Linked DNA regions of Homo sapiens: regions 2, 3, 4, 5 and 6 are each linked to region 1. The links are contacts of gene promoters, found by promoter capture Hi-C in blood cells and fetal thymus (Javierre and others, 2016). All regions are on one chromosome and are shown on one strand. Each heading gives the region's core, a stretch centred on a gene start or on the middle of the fragment in contact. The rest is flanking DNA. Distances are from core to core; before and after follow the strand shown.

What was found. The method cuts DNA at HindIII sites, captures the fragments that hold promoters and counts their contacts. A CHiCAGO score of 5 or more calls a contact.
Region 2: a contact is called between a fragment that was not itself captured here and the fragment with the promoter of FMNL2 in region 1, in 1 of 17 cell types (M2 macrophages). The highest score is 8.2, in M2 macrophages.
Region 3: a contact is called between a fragment that was not itself captured here and the fragment with the promoter of FMNL2 in region 1, in 1 of 17 cell types (M2 macrophages). The highest score is 5.3, in M2 macrophages.
Region 4: a contact is called between a fragment that was not itself captured here and the fragment with the promoter of FMNL2 in region 1, in 3 of 17 cell types (M2 macrophages, M0 macrophages and M1 macrophages). The highest score is 6.5, in M2 macrophages.
Region 5: a contact is called between a fragment that was not itself captured here and the fragment with the promoter of FMNL2 in region 1, in 4 of 17 cell types (M2 macrophages, M0 macrophages, M1 macrophages and 1 more). The highest score is 12.8, in M2 macrophages.
Region 6: a fragment that was not itself captured here is called in contact with the fragment with the promoter of FMNL2 in region 1 in 1 of 17 cell types (M1 macrophages); the score reaches 5.3 in M1 macrophages.

Annotation. Positions count from the first base shown.
Region 1 is chr2:152,333,766-152,336,657 of GRCh38, forward strand. FMNL2 (formin like 2) reads left to right here and starts at 1,409. Exons shown (of 26, transcript NM_052905.4): 1 at 1,409-1,955. The coding sequence starts at 1,839. RefSeq lists silencers at 1,209-1,858, 2,369-2,468. The HindIII fragment of the contact is 3,556 bases long and covers 367-2,892 here.
Region 2 is chr2:152,700,624-152,703,515 of GRCh38, forward strand. All of the region lies in intron 2 of PRPF40A (pre-mRNA processing factor 40A), which reads right to left. Among named protein-coding and RNA genes, the nearest start is that of PRPF40A, 15 kb to the right of the region's middle. RefSeq lists enhancers at 252-879, 366-1,565, 1,838-2,339. The HindIII fragment of the contact is 5,812 bases long and covers 1-2,892 here.
Region 3 is chr2:152,678,916-152,681,807 of GRCh38, forward strand. It overlaps PRPF40A (pre-mRNA processing factor 40A), which reads right to left. Exons shown (of 26, transcript NM_001365597.4): 6 at 2,311-2,421; 7 at 437-557; 8 at 141-194. Among named protein-coding and RNA genes, the nearest start is that of PRPF40A, 37 kb to the right of the region's middle. The HindIII fragment of the contact is 5,258 bases long and covers 1-2,892 here.
Region 4 is chr2:152,654,697-152,657,588 of GRCh38, forward strand. It overlaps PRPF40A (pre-mRNA processing factor 40A), which reads right to left. Exons shown (of 26, transcript NM_001365597.4): 26 at 1-1,702. The coding sequence ends at 1,610. Among named protein-coding and RNA genes, the nearest start is that of PRPF40A, 61 kb to the right of the region's middle. The HindIII fragment of the contact is 5,764 bases long and covers 1-2,892 here.
Region 5 is chr2:152,029,886-152,032,777 of GRCh38, forward strand. All of the region lies in intron 2 of CACNB4 (calcium voltage-gated channel auxiliary subunit beta 4), which reads right to left. Among named protein-coding and RNA genes, the nearest start is that of CACNB4, 68 kb to the right of the region's middle. The HindIII fragment of the contact is 4,901 bases long and covers 1-2,892 here.
Region 6 is chr2:152,054,023-152,056,914 of GRCh38, forward strand. The region is part of intron 2 of CACNB4 (calcium voltage-gated channel auxiliary subunit beta 4); the gene reads right to left. Among named protein-coding and RNA genes, the nearest start is that of CACNB4, 44 kb to the right of the region's middle. RefSeq lists an enhancer at 1-208. The HindIII fragment of the contact is 225 bases long and covers 1,418-1,642 here.

The sequences.
Region 1 (2,892 bases), core at 159-2,658:
ATTTATACTGTCTCCATTCTTTAAAGACTAGAAGTGGTTTAATAGAACATACATGATGTATTTGTGTGTATTTGTGTCATATGCTTTTGGAAAAAGTCACTTGTCAATTCCACAAATAGTTCTTGGGCGTCTACTATGTTTAAAGTATCTTGAAGTTTATAAAGATGAATGAAATGTCCTTGATTGAATCTTGGTGTACTACCTTGTCCAGAAACACTTGCTATTTACTAAAAGGATAACAACCTTACCTGCATATCAAAATCACCTGGGGAGCTTGTTGAAAATACACCGGCCCAGGCTTCGGCTCTCAGCTTAGGGAGATTCTGATAATACGCAGAGCCCAAGGTGTGTGTAGTTTTAACAAAAAGCTTCCCAAGCGAATCTGATACACATCTAGGATTAAGAAACACTGCTTTAAACTAAGAAAGGACTAACTGCAGAAGTTCAGCCACAAGTCAACCAGATGTATGCCCTTAACATTCACATGAGCAGTTGGCTAAAGTCTCTTATAAGGCTATTTCTATTTCCGAGGTTTCAGAACGGGTAGTTATAGTCTGAAATACACCCCAGAGGACAGAGTCAGGTCCAATCTTTTCTGTAAGACACCTTGCTCAAGACTGCTGTGAAGGAATAAGAGAGCTGCAGCCAAAGATCATCCCAAAGTCTCCCAGAACACTCTATCATTATATCCATCTCACATGAAATATGGGTGTGTACATTTTTTCCTTCACTAGATTGGCAAGTATTCCAGCGCAGGGCAAATCTCTTTTTTCTCCCACCAAGGAACACAATATCCCATACATAATAGGTGTTTGACAGGTTTTTTTTTTAAATTGAATTGAATCCTTACCTAGCTCCTAGGGTCTGACTATATATACCCATAAATTATACATCTGTTTATAAAACATTTCAATCACACCAAAGAACATATATATGGAAGAAAGAACGATAAACAAGCACCCATGGACCCACCCCCCCGTTTATGAAACAGAACTTTGCCAGTGCTTTCGAAGTTCCTTACTGAACTAGATCTTTTAAAAACAGCAACGATTTTCTGAATTTTAATCAGAAGGCATGCATTCCTTCATTCATTGATTCGATTCCGTCATGGTCAGACCCGCCTACCAAGTGTCAACATGATATACACGATGTAAGTATTCCACTGTTGGGGTGAGGAGGGTCAAAAGTGACAATATGCTATCTCCAGAGACTACGGATCGCCTTTGCTGCAAATGGTCCCAACCCGGCCTGGCGCTCTAGAGCAGGCGTGGTTTCTGCGCGCGGACACTTTGGAGAGAAACTACGCGTCCCGGCAGTCCGCGGGGCGAGTGGGCGGAGCCGGGCCGGGGGCGGGGGCCGGGCGCCGGGCGAGAGGTGGCATTGTGTAGGGGAGCGCGGAGCTGCATTTGTCTGCTCCAGGTGCTAGCCAGGCAGGCGCAGCCGTGGCCGGCTAGGGCTGGAAGTGTCAGCGGCGGCCGCGGGCCCGGCAGAAGGCCGAGTAGGAGGGACCACGCGCCGGGGGCCGCGATCTCTGGCAGGGGGCGGTGTGCCAGCGGAGCACCATGCACATAGGCGCCCAGCGCCCCAACTACCCCTCCCGAGGAAAAGAGGCCGGGGCCGCGCTGGGGCGGCGGAGAGCATGAGGGAGGCCGGGGGGCGGCTCGGCTTGGAGCGCTGCTAGGGAGCGGTGCGCGCCGCACACCCGCCTGGGCGCGGCGGAGGGCGGGGAGCCGGGCAGGTCGCGCCTGCGGGCGGCAGCCGACCGCCGGGAGCTGTTCTGATTTCCGACGCGCACGCTAGGGGCCCGGAGCAGCCCCCGGCCCCGGCGCGCCGCCGACATGGGCAACGCAGGGAGCATGGATTCGCAGCAGACCGATTTCAGGGCGCACAACGTGCCTTTGAAGCTGCCGATGCCAGAGCCAGGTGAACTGGAGGAGCGATTTGCCATCGTGCTGGTAAGTGCGCGGCGGCGGTCGGGCGCGGGGACCCGGGGCCCCGGGCCGGGCGGCGCAGCTGACCCCCGCCCCTCCCCTTCACCCCGTGCCGGGAGCGAGCCTCCATTCCCGAGGGGGAGGCTCCCGCTTTCCCCTTTGTGGCCCCCCAGCACTCCTCTTCACCCCCCTGGCAGTCCCCCGCGCTCAGTCTCTCGGGGTCCCGGGATGGGGATGGGGGCTCAGGGCCGGCTGCCCAACCAGCCTCGAACCCATTGTCTGGCTGGAGAGGCACCTCACGGCGCGTGTGCCCGGGAGGTGCGGCGTGGGCGTGAAGAGAAGGTGGCGCGGGCTGGGAGGAGGAGGTGGCGAGCCGCTTAGGCTTTTTTTTTAAAAAAAACAAAACAAAACAAAACAAAACAAAACACCCTGAGCCCCTGCGGACCATCCCTCGGGCGGCCAGCCCGGGACCTGCGAAGTCCCCGGCAGATGGGGCGCATGTGGCCGGCCGCGGGCGCCGCGCCGGGCGGTGAGCGGAGGCGAACTTGGAGGGCTCACGTCGCGGCTTGGCCAAGGGGAGCTTCCCCGAAAGGGAAAGCGGAGACCCACAGCAGTGCGGCGCCCCGGCCCTTGGCGAGGAGCAGGGGCATCTGAAACCCAGGCCGGGGAGAACCTCAGCGCGTTCCCTCTAGACTTAAATCTTAAACCACAAAAATGTGGAGTTTTGCGGGGACGTGTTGCGAGCTGTCCTGACTGCACGGGCGACCCCTCCCCTCCTCTTGCACGCCCAGCCAGGTCCCCCGCTCCCTCCTGCATTCCGCTTCTCCCAGCTTTCCAGCTCCTCAAATCCAGGACTCTGAAAACTCCCCTCTTTCTCCCTTTCCTGCTGGGACAGTGTCTGGGCCCCTCCCAGCCGAGGCTTGTGCTGTGAGCTGCAGAGGGTGTGGCGGCTTGCCCCAGC
Region 2 (2,892 bases), core at 275-2,774, 370 kb after region 1:
ATGCTCATTCATTTATCAAAAGCTAGTTTTAAAAGTCTTAGCCTAAATTTAAGATTAAGACCTAATGACAAGGATCCCATTCACAATGTAATGTGAATTTTGTTTAAAAAGATCAAAGTTGGCCAGGCGCGGTGGCTCACGCCTGTAATCCCAGCACTTCGGGAGGCCAAGGTGGGTGGATCACGAGAAATCGAGACCATCCTGGCCAACATGGTGAAACCCCGTCTCTACCAAAATACAAAAAATCAGCCAGGCATGGTGATGCGCACCTGTAGTCCCAGCTACTTGGGAGGCTGAGGCAAAGGAATTGCTTGAACTCGGGAGGTGGAGGTTGCAATGAGCTGAGATTGCGCCACTGCGCTCCAGCCTGGCGACAAAGCAAGAGTCCGTCTCAAAAAAAATAAATAAATAAAAAATAAAAATCAAAGTCTAAGATAAATGTAAGATTTTCGTTAAAATAAAAACAAAAACCAAAGCCTAAGACAGAGCAAACTGAATTTCAACTCAAGACAGTGTTCACTAGTTCTTCATGACTAACAGAATCATTCAGACTGGGAGAAGATTCAGATTCCCACTTTGAGTACACTGAGCAAGAAAGCAGCAGAAGTGGCTTTCCTTTTAAATCCACCAATGCAAAATATCATGACAGAGATGATAAATTCCTCTTCAAAAGGTTTTAATTCCCAGTTCTTCCACTTCGTTTTTCTGGTTTCTGTAGTTATCCATGCTATAACTAACCCTTCCTGCCCTTGCCGCGCCCTGACATGCCTAGACATGTCTTACGCCATAACGCATAGCCTTCCCCTTCCCGCCTAGATATCTGTGTTCAATTACAAACAGCAGCCAATCGAGTCAGTTTAGATTGTGCAGTCCAACCCTAGCCAATAGGGGAAAGACACAACAGTAGGGACCAGCTGTTAGGAATAAGAACCCCTTTCCCTCCCTTGTCCAGTGTGCTCTTGCCATTGCTCCATCCGCGAGACACACCCTTCTACAGAAGTAAATTGCCTTGATGAGAAAACTTTTGCCTGAGTATATTTTCACTTTGTGACACCAAGCATTTACTTCCAACAATTTGGGGGCCCACCCAGGATTCCCATTCTCCTCCGGGGAACCGGTCTCTGGTCACTTCTTGTGGGGAGGCGCATCCCATCGCCTTGTTGCAGTGGCCTCAGTGTGAGAGATTGGAACCCATCCAGTGCAACAAATAAACCCAGACTCTCGGCAACAAGAAAAGATACAGGCCAGCAGCTTGGCAAAAGGATTCTCACATGCTGCAGCAACCAGGTAACTCTGCACAGACCAAGGTAAGAAATGTTGCAGGGGTGACAAAGTATTTCCTTGGTGGTTGGGATATTCTGGAGGATGAAAGTGTGTGTGAATGATCACAAGCACTACTGCTTGCGGTGCTGCTTGTGTGAATGGTACCAAGCACTACTGCTGTGCAGAGTGAGTGGGTCCTATCTGCAGTTCTGTGGTCACTTCATACAGCTTAGGGCGGATCCTGCTGTGGGTTTCATACCGGCATGCCAATGCCAAGAGGGGCCTAAATTCCCACGAGGGAAGTAGCCAGAGTGGACAAAGCAAAAGAAGGATGCAAGGATCCTCCAGGAGGCGGGGTTAAAGGATAGGCAAGAAATCTCTAATACAAGGGACTGAGCCTTAACAAGCCTCCAGAGAATAGGCAAGAAGTCTCTAATACTAGGACCTGACATGGGAAATACCCTAAGCAAGACAAGGAGTAAAAAGGATAAAGGTAGCAGTAAAGATATTGCCCCGATAGTCCCCTAGGTCTCATGTTAAAAGACTGGAAAGATAATGAGAAGACTAAACATAAGCAGCAGCAATTACTGTTTTATTTGGACTCAGGGACCCATCCTCAAACCCTCAATCTTCTGGCCAAAGTTTAGGTCAAATGAGAGTGCGATGTGTCAGCTTTTGATTCAATATGTCAATGATAAAAGCCCAGCTTCTTAAGAGGAAATGGACTATGCTCTTTGTTGGAGGCAGGGACCTGTCCTCCTTTTTCCCTTTGAGACAACTAGGAAAGAACCTGATCTAGCATCACAAAAGGAAAAATTAGGTAAGTTAGTTCCAATGCTCAAAGACTCCAGCACATGGGATCCCCTAGACCATCTTCCCCCACTCAGTGACCCCAACCCCTCTCCTCAGGCAGCCGCTGCTGCCCCAGATCCCACTCTAGATCCTTCACCTACTCATGTTACTCCTCCTCCTTACAATCCTGACTTTTAGAAATTATCATCCCAGGAGCCTGTCCCCTATCAGCCTAAGGACCCCTCCCTAAAGGGACTCCAGTGTGAAATAGAGCAATGTAAAAAGGATATCCAGAACTTCCCTTTCCCCTCTACAACTCAAGAGTCAGCCCCTGCTCTCTTTCCCTTAAGAGAAATGCCATAAAGAGGGGGAACCATTGGCTCCGTGAATGCTCCCTTAATCAGTTCAGAGGTCCAGAATTTAAAGAAAGAGCTTAAGCCACTGCAAGATGACCCTTATGGAGTGACAGATCAAACTGATCAATTTTTAGGACCTCAGTTATACACTTGGGTAGAGTTAATGTCCATCTTGGACATCCTCTTTTCAGGAAAAGAAGGGAGTGTGATTCGTAGGGCTGCTATGGTAATTTGGGAACGTGAGTGTCCTCCCAGTCAAAAAGTTCCTACTGTGAACCAGAAATTCCCCGCCCGAGACCCCCAGTTGGACAATAAAAACATGCAGGACCTAAGGGAGATGATAATAAAAGGAATTCAGGAATCAGTACCCCAAACCCCAAATCTCTCTAAAGCATTTGATATATAACAAAAAAAAAGGATGAAGGGCCTATGAGATTCCTAAATAGACTGAAAGAGCAAATGAGACAATATGCAGGCCTCA
Region 3 (2,892 bases), core at 149-2,648, 350 kb after region 1:
TTATAATATAACCCTTTAATGAAAAGAATTCTTAGAGATTTTTCACTGCAGATTTATCCAATTATGGTTAGTGAATATTAGTGACATACTCTAATAAAAATGTTAAGTATGACAGAAAATGAATTATCAAAGCAGCTCACCATGCAGGTTTGATTTTGTAATAAGACTTCCAGCAACAATGGTATTCTGGTATCCTAGTTTCAGTGGAATCAAATCAAATAAAAATCTATTTAAAATCTACAGAACTGAGATCTAAAGCAACAAGAAAATAAGAGCCCAAAAAACTGTTATACGCCATTTTAAATGTTCTAATCATTTAATTAAAAAAAAAAATAAGGCCTTTGTTTGAACAATCCTATTCTGGAGGAATTGTTTCAAAGTGAATGGCATATATATGTAAAACATATACATTGAAAACTACTTTTCCCCATTTTACCTTCAAGATCCTCAAGTTCTTTAGGTTTGGCCCAGCGAGATTCTTTTGTTTGAGAATTATAATAGTAAGGCTTTCCAGAATCTGATTTGTATTCCTTCCAGGGGCATTTAGATAAGAGTTGCTGAAAAGGAAAAAACTGTTTGTTAATAATAATATATTTAACATCACTGATCATTTACATGGCTGTTTTCACTAGAAATTACCAATTGATACAATTCTAAAACTCGTGAGATGATGGTAATAATATAAACTATCAATTATTGAATATTCACTGAGTGATGCCATTTGAATACATTATTTAATCTTTATAACACTGCAAAATGTGTAACATAATTCTGTATCTAGGGACTGTTACTTGAAGTCAGAAAGTAACTTGTTTAAGGTAATATACTCATTAAAAAGCAGAGACAAGATTCAAAACCAGTTCTATATGAATTTCAAATCCTATTTACTGTAACCATTCACACCCCATTATAGGTCAAGATTATCATCCACATTTTTTTTTTTTTTTTTTTTTGAGACGGAGTCTCGCTTTGTCACCCAGGCTGGAGTACAGTAGCTCGACCTCGGCTCACTGCAAGCTCCGCCTCTCGGGTTCACGCCATTCTCCTGCCTCAGCCTCTCTGAGTAGCTGGGACTACAGGCGCCCGCCACCACGCCCAGCTAATTTTTTGTATTTTTTTTTAGTAGAGACGGGGTTTCACCGTGGTCTCGAACTCCTGACCTCGTGATCCGCCCGCCTCGGCCTCCCAAAGTGCTGGGATTACAAGTGTGAGCCACCGCGCCCGGCCTATCATCCACATTTAACAGACTTCTCTGATACTAATATTAGTTGGAAAACCATAAAAGTTCAAAAAAAACAAAATCTAATTTAGTCATGCTTAGATTTCAGTTTCGTAGTTTATGAACGAATTAACTTATTATGTAAGAAAACATGTAGGTATAATATACTTAAAATCGAATAAACAAAACCTGTTAGGGTAGTATGAGAAATCTATTCAAAGTGTGAATCCAAACAGAGTGTCTTGGACAAAGTATGTAATTAATATCATTGGCTATAAATCAGTACTGGAATACATGTTTTTAAAAATCGTCCGACCTCCCCTCCCAAGCACTGCTGTTCATGTTAGTACAGCAACCTGGAAAATACTTTTACCTTCTCAAATTCCTTAATTAGGAAGAGAAGAAAACAAAAAGGTATACCACCAGCTAGGATGAAACTTAAGCATAGCCTGGAGTGCCAGATCAACTCTTACTTACTTAGCACCCCAGAGTTTCTAATTAAACAACATGTGACATTGCTTAATTCAGTTTATTCCTTCAACCTTAACTTTTTCTTCAATATCTGTATATTTTGAATGGTAAAACTTGTAACAAAAAACAAAATAAAAACACACTTTTTAAAAGGGCATTTCCTGCAAAGAGAAAACTTCCCACTCTAAGAGAAGGAAGTATTTGTAGGTAACTTAATTTCATCTCCACTACCCTTAACCCTACTGGAAATTTAAGAACTCAGTAGAAGTCATTTAAAATCACCCAGTTTTGCTATCAGAAAAAAAAGCCAGCGGCAGGCAAAGAAACAGTCTTCCCCACTTCCAATTTATTCTTTAAATCACCTTTTTAAAATTGATCCCACTCTACTAGGTTTTCTAAGCAGGGGTAAAATCAGTAAATAAAATTATTCTGTTGAGTTTTATTGCTCTTCTTCCCGATTGGTGTGACTATACTAACCCTCTTTTTTTCTGAATGTCTTTACAGATCCTCTTCTGACATTTAAGCAGTACTGCTCTTTGATAATCGACTACTTATAGAATCCTAAAAAATACGCCCCAGTCTACTTGACAGTCCCTGAATTCCAGCTCTCAAACTTTTACCTCAGCAGGTGTTTTAAGATCATCTGGTTTCTCCCAGGTAGACTGTTTGGTTTCAGTGTTGTAGTAGTAAGTCCTTCCATCAGGTGATTTATGTTCAGTCCACATTGATTTCTAAAGAATAAAGATTAAAAAAGATGTAAATTATGTAACAATGCCATTGACAATATCAGTATCATTAGTTCCAAGGCAATAAATATATTAAGAAATCAATCAAAAGTAAAAACTGGGCATATTTTGACAGTTTAAGTAATCTAGAATAATTCATCAATACAAGTAGGAAGGGAACTGAAAAACAAGGTTTTTAGAGTACTTCAAAAGCAGCAAGGGTAAATTCAAGTTTCAGGATCTCTCTGAATTACAAAGATAAGACTACTCTCCTAAGAACAGTAACTTTATAGCTTACATACAAAAGACAATCTTTCAGAATACAAATCTGTGCCTAGTGGATAAAGAAAATATAGGAACTAGATGCTAATATATTTGAACTGACTATGTGATCATCTATTCATCTACTGTAGTCCAAGGAATACTTGTATCAACTTAGACAAAGTTCTAATTGATATTCCATAAAGAAAGACACAG
Region 4 (2,892 bases), core at 109-2,608, 320 kb after region 1:
CTTCACATTTTCTCCAAGATGAGTCTTCCTACAAGCCTGGTCATATTTCACAGCAGAAAAATGACTTGGGAGACAAAATGAGAAACAATCCCCTCACCCACCCCTTCAGCCTTTAAAGAGTAGACATTATATTTAATTCAAACGGGGCAAAATGGGAAAGAGACATTCTGGTCAGGCCCACTTTCAAAACTCACTAGGATGGGTAAGAAAAAAACTTTTTGTTCTTCAAAATCCCAACTTTGAAATAGGATCTCTTCAAGTGTACACATTAAAAGAATAACACAGATAATACCGAAGAATAGGTGCTAAAATTTACTTATTTACTTAAAAAATCTCCTGCACTGAAGGAAAATAGTATAAATTACATTACCAACCTTCAAAAGTTAGCATGTAAAGAGTATTCTGTCTTCAAACCACAGCCTCTCTAAAATAGTCTGTAAAAAATTCATAGGTGAAAAACAAATCTAGGGACCTCAAATGCACTGATTTATAATATTCTTAAATATTAAAAAAGGAAAGTAAACTAGCGGTGTGGGTAAGATGAAGCAAAATTTCAGGGATTTAGTACCTTTAAAGTGATCATACAATTTCTTTAGAGCTGAGCAGTTTAAGTAGAAATAAATACTAGTACACACTAGAAGAGAAGGTTTAATAATTGATAAAAATGTACAAAAATATTCAAATCAGAAATGCTTTAGAATGTGTACCACGAAGTCAATACTTCTCAGTGAGTAGGGAAGGCAAAATACTTCCTCAATAGCAGGGAAAAAAAAGCAAGAGAAAGACTGAATTTAGAAAAAAAAGACAACTGTTAAAGAAAATGTTTAAGTCAACTTTTTTTTTTTTTTTAGACAAGGATATTGCAACTATCACTTAAAGTCTGGTGGCACATTCTTTAGTAGGTCCTTAAGGCAATATATTTAAATTAATTTACAATTTGATTTGATGTTAAAGTTTTTTTAAACATCACCTCAAAATAGATGCTCAAAATAATGCCCTCACAATAGCCTTTGTAAAATGTATTCAGATGTTTGATAAAAAATAATGGTGGCTTTATATTACAGTAGTGCTCATTAGCACCACTATAATTAAGGGTCTACCAAGTTTCCAGCAAAACCACCTGTTTCTTAGGAGTTTCACCATAAAAGATCACATTGGCTTTAACCAGTTGGGTAGCGCACAAAAAAGCAATTTTTATCAGTTGCTGGTGCTTTTTTTGTACTACTATATTATCAAAAAATTTTTCATTAGATCTTCAAAATCCAGCTTCTATAAAGTAAATCAAATCACCTCATGACTTAGATTTTAGAACAAAGTAGAGACATCTGCAGTTATCAGTAAATTGCCACCTTTAATCCATCCTACAGTGCCCTGTGAAAGGGTCACAGAAAGACAGTTATGACTGTATGAAAATATGATTCTTGATACAGAATCAAAAGTTACTTTCAATTTCCTTTGCTTTTATAAAGTCCACGATAACAATACTTAAATGCACTTTTTTTTTCCTGTGATATAATTAAAACCCAGTGTTATTTCAGTTGAACTTAAAATAGAGTCCCTGGTCTGAATCAGACTTTAAATCATACTGTAAACATATATTTGGTATAATTTATTGATCATCATCCAGTTGCTCCAAAAGGGTTCTTCTGCGCTTTTCCAATTCCCCTTCACTCAGTTCGCTGCCAGAAGTATCCCAATTACCCTGAAAAGACATTGATTACAATTATAGTTGACATCAGTACTCAGAGGTTTACGGGCTGAGCCTTTGAAAAAAGAATCCAATATCTATATAAACTCTCTTCCAAAGAAACACATTTCACAGGGTTTAAAGACTGTGTGAATATGAAGCAATATTTCCATTTAATGGAAGCCAGGTATTCATTTCCTAGATAATACATTCCTTGCTAATTTTTTTGTTGAGACAGAGTCTTGTTCTTGTCACCCAGGCTGGAGTGCAGTGGCACGATCTCGGCTCTCTGCAACCTCTGCCTCCTGGGTTCAAGCAATTCTCCTGCCTCAGCCTCCTGAGTAGCTGGGATTACAGGTGCCTGCCACCAAGCCCGGCTCATTTTTGTATTTTTAGTAGAGATGGGGTTTTGCCATGTTGGCCAGGCTGGTCTCGACTCCTGACCTCGTGATCTGCCCACCTCGGCCTCCCAAAGGGCTAGGATCACAGGTGTGAGCCACTGCACCTGGCCTATTCCTTGCTAATTTTGTAGCTTCCCCCTGGTTCCACAAGTATTATCACAGAAACAGAAGTAGTATGCTTTAAGCATATGGATTCCTGTGCCAAATAAATACACAAGACTAATGAGCAGGACAAGATTTAGGCTGAACAAACAAAAATAATACTGCACCGTAAGACACAACCTTTGAAAAGTGGATAGTTCCCATATCGTCCTCTTTCATTCACTCCAGGGATTTCATTTAACCCACCATAAGCTGCTAGAAAGTACAAAGGAAACATTCACTCTTCACTTACGATGTGACTCAGACTCACCTGTTTCAGCTCTAAAAAAAAACCCACCCTATACCAACGAATCAGAATATCCAGAGATCCCTAATAGGGTTTTACCTACATAGTTTATGCTCTCCAGTGATGATTCATAGGCATTTACCCTTGCTAAACCCACAGCATTTGCATTATTAGGCTCTGTCATTCATATATACATATATTTGAAAAGGACTAATTATGTAATCTGTTATTGAAATACTAACTTTGGCTTATATTCTCCTCTCCTATTTATTTGCCCTTCCTCCACCCCAAATCAGTATTTCTAAAAGTTACTGGAATTGCTACCTTTTGAAACAAAGGATTTAATAACAGTGACAACTGTAGACATCTGTAGAATCCCAGATTTAGTCTCTCACTTAAAAAAAAAATTTGAAAAT
Region 5 (2,892 bases), core at 217-2,716, 300 kb before region 1:
ACTTCCCAGCCTCTAGAACTGTGAGAAATAAATTCCTGTTGTTTAAGCCACCTGGTCTACAGTATTTTGTTGTGGCATCCTGAGCTGACTAATACAGTCATGCATCATGATAACAAGAAAAGAGCAAATTACACAAACAGGTGCACTGAGTAGAGAATGCTGAAGTGCAAATTCAAGAAGCCTCATTTTCTTTTTGAGGCAATTGTGAGCACTCTTACCTTCTTTTTTTTTTCTGATTACATTTCTACTCTTCACTTTATTCACTATTTAGTTGCTTCTAAAATAGTTTGAGGATTATATTAACACAGTCTTGAAAAAATAAAATTCACACATAGTCAAATAACACTGTAGGACATGTTTGTTAAGACAAAAGAAACACAACATTGAAAATACTTGGACATTTTTCATGCTTATAAGACACTAGATTTATGTTTACATTTTTTCATCAATATTAATAGTATAATTCACTATGTATAGATGAAATTTTACACAAGATCATCATTAATTTTTACAGATATGATCTCATAATTTTAGAAAATTTTGTTTCCATTGTTATTGAAAAGAATTTTATGTATTTATTTATTTTTCTTATACTTTAAGTTCTAGGGTACATGTGCACAACGTGCAGGTTTGTTACATATGTATACATGTGCCATGTTGGTGTGCTGCACCCATTAACTTGTCATTTACATTAGGTATATCTCCTAATGCTATCCCTCCCCACTTGACAGGCCCCAGTGTGTGATGTTCCCCTTCCTGTGTCCAAGTGTTCTCATTGTTCAATTCCCACCTATGAGTGAGAACATGCAGTGTTTGGTTTTCTGTCCCTGCAATAGTTTGCTGAGAATGATGGTTTCCAGCTGCCTCCATGTCCCTACAAAGGACGTGAACTCATCCTTTTTTATGGCTGCATAGTATTCCATGGTGTATATGTGCCACATTTTCTTAATCCAGTTGGAACCAACCCAAATGTCCATCAATGATAGACTGGATTAAGAAAATGTGGCACTCTCACCTTCTAAAATTGATACTGATGTCAAGCAAGGTTGGGGAAAGATGATTCATTCACTGCACAGCCTCAGCCCTGGGCAGAAAACACAGCAGTAACAGGGAAGTGGATACAAGCAGTCCAGGAGAAAGGGTACTTGGGGTAGACAGGCGGTATTGCCACGGGACTAGCAAGATATTTTACAGATGAAGAAATAACAATTTACAGAGAAACTTCCTTCCAGAAAGAAAAAGAGGAACCAAGAGAAGAATGACCATCATCCTGATGTGCCCAGAACTCTTTCAGTTTTAGCACCTAATATTGTACATCCTGGGAAACCCCTCAGTCCCCAGGACTGTTGGTCACCCCACAAAGGACACTTCACAAATTATTAAATCTGAACAAGTAACAGGTACAAGATATTATGATGATGACTTAATGACCGAATAAGACTCTGAGGGTAAATCAAGATTTAAATTGCAGTTACGTGTTATACAATGCATGTAGTTCAGGCTGGTAGGAGGACCTTCCAGAAACTGGAAACATGGGACTCTGAGGATGAGAGAGCACACGCAGGTGAGCGGAGACTTCTTCTCCTCCTAATATCCCACTGTTGACGGGTGCTGTGTTATCTGTACTGTGGCCCCTCTGCAGCACAACCTGAGGGAGGAAGGCAGGTCAGACACAGCCAGGGGCTTGCTCAAAGGCCTGGGACCAGGCAGAGGAGGATCCACAGATGGAGCTCAGGTCTCCTCATCCTTAATCCTAGGCTTTCTCCCCTGCCCATCAGCCCCTCCCGGCCGCCATTAATCCTCGGATTTCAGAGTCCTGATGGCCTCTAAGGAGTGAGAGGACAGTCAGCAGGGTCTCTGCTAGACCCTGAAGAGAGACCTGGAGTTAATGGTAGAGAACTAGGCAACAGGAAAAAGAGGAGGTTTTAAAAATTATCCATATTTTTGAAAACTGATATTTTCCTCCATTACTAGAAAACTGCCCTTTCTGTTGGCATTAGGCTCTCTAAAAGGGAAGCACCGTGCTGACAGTCTTGCCAAGCCAAGGGTGAAAGCCTCACAGCCCGTGGCTTGCTTGAACGAAGGCTCCATCAGGGGACAGCAAACTCCCTCATTTCATATTCAGGCAAGAGCGGAGAGCAACAGAGCCTTGATGATTCGAGTGTCTGGATCCTTCTATAGTGTGGGGAAAGGATGTGGCAAATAGAGAGAGAGAAAAAAGGAATAGGAGGCACATGACCAAGTCTGATTTTTTCAGACCTTCTGTTAAAACTGCCCCACAGATGGCTTCAAAATATAGAACCAGAGACTGTGGAGAGCTGGAAGGAATCCCCTTCCCCCCGTCCATTATCTTTGCTCCACGGATAAGAAATTGGCCTGAGAAGGGAAGGGACTGACCCAGGCCACACAGCCAGGAAGGGGCAACAGCCATGTCTCCTGACTCTCAGTGTAACATTTTTTCCCCTAAAATACATTGGACCAAAATCTACTTAGCAGCCCATGGAAATGAACAAGTAAATTGTTAACTTGCTACTAATTTTAGCTATCAACTATTGATGGTGGCACATCTAACTCAGTCGGTCATGATTTTAAGAAAGCCACAATTAATTACAAATTCCTTAAAAAACACAAATAGAGACTATGGTTTAACCATATATTACCGAGACATTTTAATACAACTTTATTTTTAATAATAGGGAATTCAAAAAAATCTAAATGCTTTTTTGCTTAATGCATTTTCTCTCTCCAAAGAAAGTCTCAATATACTTTATATGTTTCCATCTTAAAAAGATTTTTTAGGCAGGGTGTGGTGGCTCATGCCTATAATCTCAGCACTTTGGGAGGTTGAGGCAGGAAGATTACTTCAAGACCACCCAGGGCAATATAGTGAGA
Region 6 (2,892 bases), core at 280-2,779, 280 kb before region 1:
GCACCTGCTGGAGGATTGTTTGGTGTGTGGAAAAAACCCTCTACACTTAAGAAGTATTGTGTTGGCCGGGCGCGGTGGCTCACGCCTGTAATCCCAGCACTTTGGGAGGCCGAGACGGGCAGATCACGAGGTCAGGAGATCGAGACCATCCTGGCTAACGCGGTGAAACCCCGTCTCTACTAAAAATACAAAAATTAGCCGGGCGTGGTGGCGCGCGCCTGTAGTCCCAGCTACACGGGAGGCTGAGGCAGGAGAATGGCGTGAACCCGGGAGGCGGAGCTTGCAGTGAGCCGAGATCGCGCCACTGCACTCCAGCCTGGGCGACAAAGCAAAACTCCGTCTCAAAAAAAAAAAAAAAAAAAAAAAATAGTATTGTGTTGAGTGACTGTATGACAGTAGAGGAGAAAAATTGTTTATTTTTTCTTCAGACCATATTTTACTTATCCACTCATCAACTGATGACCATTTGGGTTGTTTCCTTTTTTGTCTATTACGAATAATGCTGCAAAAAACATTCTTGTATAGGCTTTTGTGTGGACACATGCCTTCATTTATCCTGCATATGTACCTAGTAGTGGACTTGCTGGGTCATAAGATAACTCTATACTTAACCTTTTCAGAAACTGCCAAACTTTTCCATGGTAGTTGCACCATTTTACATTCCTACCAGCAGTGTATGAGGATTCCAATTTCCCCATATTCTTGCCAAAAATTATCTGTCTTTTTTATTATAGCCATCCTAGTGGGTGTAAAGTGGCATGTCATTGTGGTTTTGAATTGCATTTCCTCCTGGTGACTAATGATACGGAGCACTTTTTTTTATGTGATTATTGGCCACTGGTATGTCTTCTTTGGACAAATGTCTATTCCTATCCATTGCCTATTTTTGAAACGTCTTTTCTACTGAGTCTAAAAGTTCTTTATATATCCTAGACACAAGTCCCTTATCAGATATAAGATTTGCAAATATTTCCTCCCAGTCTGTGGGTTGTCTTCTTTTTTGTTTTAAGACAGAGCCTTGCTCTGTCACCCAAGCTGCAATGCAGTGGCACAATCTCAGCTCACCGTAACCGCTGCCTCCCAGGTTCAAGGGATTCTCATGTCTCAGCCTCCCGAGTAGCTGGGACTATAGGCACATGCCACCACACTTGGCTAATTTTTGTATTTTTAGTAGAGACAGGGTTTCACCATGTTGGCCAGGCTGGTCTGGAACTCCTGACCTCAAGTGATCGGCCTGCCTTGGCCTCCCAAAATGCTGGGATTACAGGTGTGAGCCACCATGCCTGGTCTTCTTCTTACTTTCTTGATAGTAACCTTTGAAGCACAGAAGTTTTTAATTTTGATGAGCTCCAAATTATTCATTTTTTTCTTTGGTTACTTGTGCTTCAGTGCCATATCTTAAGATCAACTTTAAACAAGCTTTTTTCAGCTTGTATTGTCAGTTGTAGGCATTGATTCTTTTCCACTTTAGCAGCAGGGCCTCTCCTTACCCTGACTCACTCACTTATGGAGACATGGCAGACCACACAGCCCACAGGCAATGCAAGACATGAATGGATTTGCACACCCCACTGAGTCCTGCTGTGCTCTGATTATCACTTTGATTATTACTGAACACTGCAAAGTCTAGATAAGGCTTTTAAGCTTCTGGAGCCTTTCAGAATTGTTAATTAATCCTTAAAATAGCTTTGAAGGCTGATTTCCCCCCTGATTCTAAGAAGATAATTAAGAAGCTATTGCCAAGACAAATAACTTTTTTCGGAGGAACTCTAACCTCTGAAATTTTCAAACTTTGACTACTAAGGAGGAAGGAGACAGAAACTGGGCAAAGTGTGACAAAGAGCAGTCAAGGCACAGCAAGTGAGTGGCGACCGAAGCTCAGTATGTTTATATCCTCACTCGCCTGTTACTATCATCACCTCCTCACATGGTTTCTACTCACCACCACGCCCCTGTGACTACCCACCACACTGAAGCCAGAAGGACCATATTTAAAAATCTGGTTATACCAATTGGTTCATCAATACCCGCAAGATTTTTTAGAAATTAGATATTTTCGGCTGGGCACGGTGGCTCACCCCTGTAATCCCAGCACTTTAGGAGGCCAAGGCAGATGGATCACGAAGTCAGGAGATCAAGACCATCCTGGCTAACACGGTGAAACCCCGTCTCTACTAAAAATACAAAAAATTAGCCAGGCATGGTGGCAGGGCCTGTAGTCCCAGCTACTTGGGAGGCTGAGGCAGGAGAATGGCATGAACCCAGGAGGCAGAGCTTGCAGTGAGCCAAGATCACGCCACTGCACTCCAGCCTGGGTGACAGAGTGAGACTCTGTCTCAAAAAAAAAAAAAAAGAAATTAGAAATTTTCAGAAATATCGTGTCCCCAAATGCTTTGTCAGTTTATCCGCTACAATTATCTCCCATGTTTCACACACTCAAGCCTCATCAACTTTCTCCAGGTTTACTAAAACCACTGCACTACTAGAAACTCCTTTGCTCTGGAAGGTACCTTCCTTCTGCTGCTCACACGGGAAGACCTAGACATGCCACCCCCTAGTGACGTCTTCCCAGCTTTGCTAGGCAATTAATAGACTCTACCTGTGTGTGATGCCCTTGGCATTTTCTTCATAGTTCTATTATTATTATAACCCAGATGGCAACTGGAATCATGCTGCTCTTTATGCTCCAGTTACCACTGCTTGCACCACAACTCCACATCCTGTGGAAAATTTAGTACCCATTCAGGATGTCTGAAATCCCTAGACAATAAGGCGAGAATGGTGATTATCCTATGGATACTGTTACCTCCAACTTTCTGCCCTCATTGACTTCTTGTTCTCTGCTATGTGTCTTGTGACTATCCCTTACTTTTACAAACATAGACCTCAACT